2 separate regions of the Homo sapiens genome follow, and region 1 is linked to region 2. Evidence: promoter capture Hi-C in 16 types of primary human blood cells and fetal thymus (Javierre and others, 2016). All regions are on one chromosome and are shown on one strand. Each heading gives the region's core, a stretch centred on a gene start or on the middle of the fragment in contact. The rest is flanking DNA. Distances are from core to core; before and after follow the strand shown. Region 1 has its middle 27 kb from the start of DNAJC1. Region 2 holds the start of ARMC3 (armadillo repeat containing 3).

Evidence for each region. Contacts are between HindIII fragments. The CHiCAGO score rates a contact against its expected background, and 5 or more counts as called.
Region 1: a fragment that was not itself captured here is called in contact with the fragment with the promoter of ARMC3 in region 2 in 6 of 17 cell types (naive CD8 T cells, endothelial precursors, naive CD4 T cells and 3 more); the score reaches 5.9 in naive CD8 T cells.

Annotation. Positions count from the first base shown.
Region 1 is chr10:22,028,155-22,032,582 of GRCh38, forward strand. No RefSeq gene overlaps it. Among named protein-coding and RNA genes, the nearest start is that of DNAJC1, 27 kb to the left of the region's middle. The HindIII fragment of the contact is 570 bases long and covers 1,632-2,201 here.
Region 2 is chr10:22,925,538-22,930,171 of GRCh38, forward strand. It overlaps ARMC3 (armadillo repeat containing 3), which reads left to right and starts at 2,516. Exons shown (of 19, transcript NM_173081.5): 1 at 2,516-2,569. The HindIII fragment of the contact is 5,434 bases long and covers 1-4,634 here.

The DNA.
Region 1 (4,428 bases), core at 667-3,166, 900 kb before region 2:
TTTTTTTTTTGCCAGTGTTCTTGTTGCTTTTATGGAGAAATAAATTTTCAGAGGTTCTTACTCTGCCATCCTTGAACTATTGTCCAGGTCCCAGTATTATTTTTTTAACTTTTTATTTTGACAAAATTATGAAATCACCTGCAGTTGTAGGAAGTAATACAAAGAAATCTCATATACCTTTTACTCAGTTTCTTTTCATGGTAACAGCTTGCATAACTAGAGTACAATATCCTAACCAGAAAACTTATACTGCTGCAAACTATTGACTTTATTCAGTTGTTACCAGATTTGCATACATTCACTTGTGTATGTGTGGTGTGTGTGTGTGTGTGTGTGTATGCATAAGTAGGTGTGTTTAGTTCTATGCAATTTTACCACGGTTAAGTTACATAATGGTTCTATCACAACGATCCTTCATGTTATTCTTTATTCCTTCATAGCCAGTCATGTCAACTCTTCCCCAAACCACCACTCCTAACATCTGTTCTCTAAGTCTATAATGTCATCTCAAGAGTGTCATGGAGTATATCATTCAATGAAATATCATTTGGCAATTAAAAGACAGTACTGACACATGGCACAACATGGATGAACCTTGAAAATATGCCACGTGAAAGAAGCCAAGCACAAAGGATCACACAACGGATGACTCCATTTCTTTTTGAAATGTCCAGAATAGACAAATCTGTAGAGACAGAAAGGAGATTAGTAGTTGCCATGGGCTGGGTGGGATGGGGGGAATTTTTGGTGATGGCTAAGTGATCTAGAAGGGAGGGCTTAATAAAAATGTCCTAAGATTGATTGTGGTGATGGTTGCACCTCTGTGAATATACTAAAAGCCATTGAATTGTACACTTTAAATGGGTGAATTACATGGCACGTGAACTATATCTCAATAAAGGTGTTTTTTAAAAAAAGAATGCAATGGAAATAGAGTCAGACAATAGGTGACTCTCTGAGACTGGTCCTATCATTTTAAAGCAAAAGTTTGGTCCCAGAGAAAGTATCTGTTGCAGATGTAGTAGATACATAATAATACAGTACAGAAAAGTTAGATATGAGCTATCATAGTTGAGTGTGGTAAGAGGTCACTTGGCATGGTCAGAAGGAAGGGGAGAACCTGCCAGCTCTCAGAGGAGTCTAGGTGGGATTACCATGCACATATAAATACAATCCAGGTGGGTCTCTTTTCAAGTCTACTCCAAGGATGAGATTTCTCAACTCTTTCTGGAACTGGACCCAAATGGGATGGATGAAAATAAGCTGTTTCAGCTCAATTCAGATAAGGCTTTTATTGGAAGAGAAAGCCAACAACGATAGAAATTTACACATACACTGAGGTTCACCGCCTCAGCTGCTTCTAGATTCACAGATAAAAACCATAGAGCAGAGTTCCTTTCTGTACTTGGCACAGAGATTAAACACCCTCATATGTGGCTCTTATCTTGTTTTGTACTTTTACTTCCCTCCGCACTAGATCATTACAAAGCTTTCTACTGGGAGAGACACGTTTCTAGACCTTATGTAATTATTTTCTGGTAGAAATGGAGTGACTCATTCAACTATAGAACGCTGTCCCTTGATCAGTGTTATCGTGGTTACTCACCATCGATCAGCATTCAGTAGAAGTAAGCTTGATTGCAATTAGCCTTTGTAGATCAGTGCATGATATAGTTTCAAAGCTAGAAATTTGAGAATTGAACATTTTCAAAAAGAGCTCCTAAAGGCAAATCCTTTAATAATTTCAAAATATCAAGAACTCACAATTTTCTGAGATAGATAGCTTATATGAATGGTCTCTATTTGAGAGAGAGAGAGAGAGGTAAAAGGTTATTTGCCGTTACTCTGACACTGGGTTCCTGCCCATTGTGTATTGCACTTTCACAGTAGAACAAAACTGCAAGAGTAATTAATCCTTAACTGGCTAAATAAACTCTCTCTCACAGAGCATTACCTTCTCTGACTTTAGAGATATTAACTACCGTAGAAATGTTTCACAAACGTGGTATTTCATGAACGTTAGAACAGAGTTCATTCTCTAAACCAGGGTTGGCAAACGTTTTCTGTAAAGGGCTAGATATTAACTATTTTAGATTTTGTGGACCACGTAGTCTCTGTTGAAACTAATCTACTCTGCCATGGTAGCCCAAACACAGCCATAGATAATAAGTAAATGAAGAGGTATGACTGTGTTCCAACGAAGCTTTATTTGTGAACACTGAAGTTTGAATTTTATATCAATTTCCACTGTTATAAAAATGTTGTTTTGATTTTTTTTCCAAAAATTTTTTTTTCTTAGTTCACAGGCTCTATAGAAACAGGGATGGAGCCAGATTTGGCCTGTGGGGCTTCGTCTGTCTGCTCCTGCTCTAACTGATGGAAGAGTAAAAACATCATAGGCTGTACAGAAGAGTGGTTTGGAAGCTGTGACTTGGTATCAGGCAGATATGAGTTTGAATACTGGCTTTTCCACTCACTAGGTGTATGACCTTGGGCAAGTTACACAACCTGTTTAAACCTCAGCGTCCTCATCTATAAAAGTGAGGATGATAACAGCCACTAATAGGAATGCTGTAAAAATTAAATGAAATAATACATGTATGTTTAGCACATACATGGTCATAGTGAATGCAGTTAAACCTACAGCAAGTGTCATGAGAAGTACAAAGCCTTTCCTTTTCTCAGATCTGTATCCGCACCCTGGAATTCATAGAGGGATATTTATCAAGACAGTATGGATCAGGCCAAATCTTAGAGTCATTCCTGAGTCCTATTCTCTTTTCCCCCCATTCAATTCAGCAGCAAATCATGTCTTCTCTAACTTCAAAATTTTCCCAGAATCTGACCATTTCTCCACAACCATCACCCTAATCCATGCCACCATCAACTCTCATCTGGTCTTTCTGGTTCCACCCTTGCCTCCTCTCACCTAATCTCTGCAGAAATGCTTCTAAAATATAACTCAGATTGCTTCATTCCTCTTCCCCAAACCCTCTAATCATTCATGCAGAGGAAAATCCCAGGTCCTTACCATCTAAGCCCTCTGGTCTCCTACACTCTTCCCCTTGCTCCCTCAGCCCCAGCCAGAGTGGCATCGTTGTCCTTCAAAACTGTCAATCCTGCTCCCACTTCCCACTTAATATTTGTTGGTATGTCTGTCTGGAATGTTCTTCTCCCAGATAACAAAGTAGTTTCAATTTTACTAGTTCCCTCACGTCACTGCCCAAATATAATATTATTAGAAAAGCATTTCCTGACTCTCCTTAAATGATCTCATCCTACTTGGTGGTCATATTACCACCTCCCACTATATTTCATATTTATTTGTGGATTGGATGCCTCCCCCTTCTAGAAGGTAAGCTCATGAAAGCAGACTTTATGTATCTTGTTTACAGCTGCATCCTCAATGTCTAAAACAGTGCCTGACACTGAGTAGTTTCAAATTTGTTGAGTGAATTAATAAATGACTTTTTGCTGCTCTAAAATTTTCTCAAGTTCGTGAGCTTCTTGAGTATTATTCTTATATTCATTAGATTATATGTTTTGCTGTGTATAAGAAACAGATTAGAGAGAAATTAATTTACTTATTTATTACTCAAGATTCTGGAGGTAGGAGATTTAGATTCCAATGTCTGCTTGTTACCAAGTTCCAAAGTCACTTCCACATTTTCAGATATCTTTATAGCAATGCCCCATTCCTTGGTACCAATTTTCCATTTTAGTCTGTTTCCGCATTGCTATTTAAAAAAATACCTGAAGGCAGGGTGTGGTGGCTCATGTCTGTAATCCTAGCACTTTGGGAGGCTGAGGTGGGTGGATCATTTGAGGTCAGGAGCTCGAGACCAGCCTGACCAATATGGTGAAACCCCACCTCTACTAAAAATACAAAAAAATTAGCCAGGCATGGTGGCATGTGCCTGTAGTTCCCAGCTACTGGGGAGGCTGAGACAGGAGAATTGCTTGAACCCGGGAGGCGGAGGTTGCAGTGAGCCGAGGTTCTGCCACTGCACTCCAGCCTGGGCAATGAAGTGAGACTCCGTCTCAAAAACAAACAAACAGACAAACAAACCAACAAAAAAACACAAAAACACCTGAGACTGGGTAATTTATAAAGAAAAGAGGTTTAGTTGGCTCACTGATATGGTTTGGCTATGTCCCCACCCAAGTCTCGTCTTGAATTCCCTCATGTTGTGGGAGGGACCCAGTGGGAGGTAATTAAATCATGGGGGCAAGTCTTTCCCATGCTGTTCTCGTGACAGTGAATAAATCTCATGAGATCTGACGGTTTTATAAAGAGGAGTTCCCCTGCACAAGCTCTCTTTGTCTGCTGCCATCCATGTAAGACATGACTTGCTCCTCCTTGCCTTCTGCCATGATTGTGAGGCCTCCCCAGCCATGTGGAACTGTGAGTCCATTAAACCTTTTAAC
Region 2 (4,634 bases), core at 1,266-3,765:
TTAGAATGATTACTTTGATTGTCTTGGAGAAGATGAATTGAAGCTAGGATGAGTCTAGAGGATGGAAGACCTGCCAGAAGGCTTGTTAGATGAATTCAGGTAAAGGACAGTGACTTTCTGTACTTGGGCTATGGGAATTGGAAGGTGAGAATAAATTCAAGAAACTTTTAGGGGAATCCAATAATTAACTGCATGAAAAGGAGAATAAGTCTAGGATGCCTGTCAGACTTGGTGGTCTGTTTGGGTAGAACACCTGTTGGTACCCCTAGATAAATGGAAAAACATGTCTATACTGGGAAAATGATGAGTTTAGGTGGGTAGTGTTGATGACTGAAGTGCCTGTGGGTATCCAGGTGGAACTGTGTAGCAAGTAGGATATATGGGTCTAGAGTTCAGTACCGGAGTCTGATGAGGAGCTACATATGTGCAATAGTTGAAGTCACAAATATAAATAAGATCACCTAGAAAAGCATATAGTGTGAAAAGAGAACAAGGGACAGATCCCTGGGAAATTTCAACATTTAAGATTCTGTAAAAAAACCACAATAGGGCATATATCCCTATAAAATCCCAGCTACTCAGGAGGCTGAGTCAGGAGGATTCCTTGAGGCCAGGAATTCAAGACAAGCCTGGGCAACATAGATAGACCCTGTTGTATAGAAAAGATCTTAAATGATGGTCATAAAAGAAAGTAGGAGGAAGATCAAGAGCAAGTAGTACCAAGGAAACCAAGAAAAGAGTTTCAAGAATGAGGTGTCATTGAGTATTATATACAGCAGCAATGTCAAGCAAGATGAGGGCTAAGAAGCATCCAATGGATATGGATAGTTTTAGTGCTGGGATGAAAACAGGTCACTATAGTCTGAAGAGTGAATAGGAAGTTAAAAATATGTAAGTATCTAATGCTGGCTACTTTTTTTGAAAAGTCATGACCAAGAAGAGAAAGAAAACAATAGGATAATAGTTAGAAGGAACAACAACATCAAAGGGATTTTATTTGTTTTTGCTTTTTAGATGAGGCATGGGAGGGGCTTCAACATAATTATATACCAACAGGAAAAAACGTGGAAGACAGGGAGAGGCTGAAAATACAGGTGTATATTATTCAAGGTCCAATCATATAACACTTGATGACGCTTATATTCTTGAAACTCCCTCCTTAGTTTCCTTGATGCTACTTGGTCTTAATCCTTTTCCTACTTTCATGACCATTACTTAAGATCTTTTCTATACAGAAGTCACACCGGATATTTGACCATGGAAAACTGAATACAAATAATTGTTATAAAGCTGTTTATCAGGCAATTTAAATGGTGAGAAGAGAACATAAGATATATAAAAGTAGCAATTATAAGAAGCATCTATCATTCTTAGGACTGGGAGACCAACAGGGGCCGGTAGGAGACGGAATTTGCAAAGTCTAAGAGGAGAGGGAGAGACTTTTTGCTAAAGGCAATCAAAAAATATTTTATGAAGATGGCATTTGAGCTGGGCTTAATTAAGTGGAAATGAGAGAATATTTCAGGTATTGCACATGACCTGGGAAATAGAAGCTACTTTATAAATATTTGTTGAAAAATGAAGTGATGAACAGATAAGCAAGAAAATCTAGAGAAAAGTGTGGAAAATTTCGGGAACAGTAAGTTTGGCTGGAGCTTGGATGGTGGAGATCGGTTGAAAATGTGGTTGCACAGATGGAGTAGAGATGGAGCAGACGGTCTTAAATTCCAGGCCAATGTGTTGAAAATTTATCTTAGGAAGCCGCTGACATTTGAGTAGGGAAGTGACAAGACTGGAACGATGATTTCTGGATGGCCGATTTGCCTGTGATACGTAGAAAGAACTGTAAGCAGAGAGCAACTGAATTTCTCAGCCAGAAGGCCAAAAAATGACGAGCTGGATTGAAGTGACAATAAGGATATGAGAAAGGGAACAAGCAGGAAACAAAATGTAAGCCGCCAAGAAGTGGCTGAAGTGATGACTGTGGTTGGGGGGCATGGGAGGAAGAAGGGAAATTGAAGCTCCTTCTGAGTCTAGGCAATTGGAAGAATGGCAGGAAGAGGAAAGAAAGAGGAAGAGAACGGGGCTTTGAAGGGCCATGAGAAGTTCTGTGGAAACGGATTGGACATCCTAGTGCAAAGAGATGTGGCAGTGCAGGTCTGCAGCTTAACGGAGCCTGGGCAGGAGGTGGCTGATGTGGGTTTCATCTGCATAGAGATTCCGGCTGACGCCTCTATTTGGAAGAATGCAATAGTATTTGCGTATTTGAACCCACAGCCAGTCCTTGGGCCAGAAACTGAGGCTGAACTGCCTCTTGATTTACAGCTTCCACCCCCAGTTTCCATTCTCCCCTAAAGCACTGGATTCAGGTAATCGCGGACGCACTTGGCTCCTCCCGCACTGGCCGCTGCCCTCGGCGGGACAATGGGCGCCCTAGCAGCCCCGAGCGTTCCCAGGGCGCAGGCGCGGCGCGGCGTGGCGTCGCCTAGCAACGAGGCACAACAAGGGACTGGGGGTTCGTCTGCTGGGTTTGCGGAGCAGCTAGCTACTCGGCGGGATCTCCCGGCAGGTAAAGGTAACCCCGTGGGGTGGGGAGGCCCAAGGCAGAGGCCTGAGGAAAACCTGGGAAAGGAGAAGGTGCCACGTGGGCGCAGACTGCTTGGGTCAGTGAGGCAACACCTTGCTGGGCGTTGTTAGTTTCTGCCTCGCGCCCGCAGGGTTAGACGGGGCTTGGGGTGGGTTTCGTAAGCATCCCGCCACCTCCCATTCAACAGGTGACAAAACTGAGGCCCGAGAGGGGATCTGAGGTGAGATCAAGTCAGATTCCGTTACTTGACTGTGAGCAACTCAGAAGTGGCCTCGATTTCTTGAGCCCTCCTCCTCTTTAAATCTTCTCAAAGCAGAACTCATTAGAAAATATTTAAAATCATAGGCTGAACGTTCACGAAGAACAAATACAAAGGACCAATCAACTCGTGAAAAAAAAAATGGCTCCAGTAGTCAAGAAGATGCATTTTTAGAGCAGAGTTGTTTGCATATCCAATGCCCTGAAGTTTTCACCCAGTTAATTTACTGCTAGAGATTTATCCTAAAGAAATAGTTGGGGATAATGGATGAAAATTTTATGTCCAAGGACGTTCTTTCAGCCCTGTCCATATTTCCAGAAAATTAGAAACAAATTTCAACAATCAGAGACTGGCTAGATAGCTAAGGGATTTTAAAATATTTGTAATGGCATGTTATGCTAATCCACTGGAGATTATTAAAGCAATGAAGGGAAACTGAGACTTCATGAATTTATTTGTTAATATAAGAATTTAGTAGGAATATGAACCCAGGAAGGGAAGGTGAAAGTAGGGGATAGAAGTTGAGGCAGGATGTTAAAATCACTTTAGAAAAACACACAAAGCCAGGTACGGTGGCTCACGCCTACAACCCCAGCACTTTGGGAGGCTGAGGCGGGTGGATCGCCTGAAGTCAGGAGTTCGAGACCAACCTGGTCAATGTGGGGAAACCTGTCTCTACTGAAAATACAAAAATTAGCCGAGCGTGGTGGCGGGTACCTGTAATCCCAGCTACTCAGGAGGCTGAGGCAGGAGAATCTCTTAAACCTGGGAGGTGGAGGTTGCAATGAGCCAAGATCAGGCCACTCTCCAGCCTGGGCAACAGAGTGAGACTCTGTCTCAAAAAAGAAAAAGAAAAAGAAAAAAAGAGAAGAGAGAGAGAGAGGGAGAGAGAGAGAGAGAAAGAGAGAGAGAAAGAGAAAGAAAAAGAAAAAGAAAGGAAAGGAAAGGAAAGGAAAGGAAAAGAAAAGAAATAGTATTGATCTCTCTGAGCTTATCTTTGGGTGATTTTTATTTTATTCGTTGTGCCCTTGTTTTCCAAATTCTCCACAGTGAAATGTATTACCCTTGTAAGGATCATCTCCATAGCTCATTGCCACCGACCTATGTCAGCTGTTCAGTCTCTCCTCCATTAACTATCATACCCAATATGGTGATAAAACACATAGGCTTTTTTTGGGGGAGGAGACAGAGTCTCGCTCTGTCACCCAGGCTGGAGTGCAATGGGGTGATCTCAGCTTATTGCAACCTCCGCCTCCCGGCCTCAAGCAATTCTCCTGCCTCAGCCTCCCCAGTAGCTGGGAATGCAGGCACATGCCACCGCCACTCCAGGCTAATTTTTGTATTTTTAGTAGAGACAGAGTTTTGCCATGTTGTCCAGGCTGGTCTTGAGCTCCTGACCTCAGGTGATCCACCCGCCTCAGCCTCCCAAAGTGCTGGGATTACAGGAGTGAGCCACCACGCCGGGCCATGATAAAACACATAGGCTTTTAACTTCATTCTTTAGCTTAGGAGACACTCTATCATTGCAATACTGTCTGTGTAAGCTCTTCTAACCTCTGCACTATGCAATTGCTCAAAAACACTATCCTGAAGTAGGAAAAATTAGTTCCTAAGTGAAAATCAGATGATTTAAAACAACTTTATGCAGGTGTAATTAAATTGCTTCCTGAATATTATTCATAAGCAATTATTTTATAAATCAAAGGCTGCTCTGTCTTGGAATTGGTTATAGAGTGCTATAAACTCTCTCTTTTTTTTTTCCTAGAGATTAATTGTAGGATAGATTCT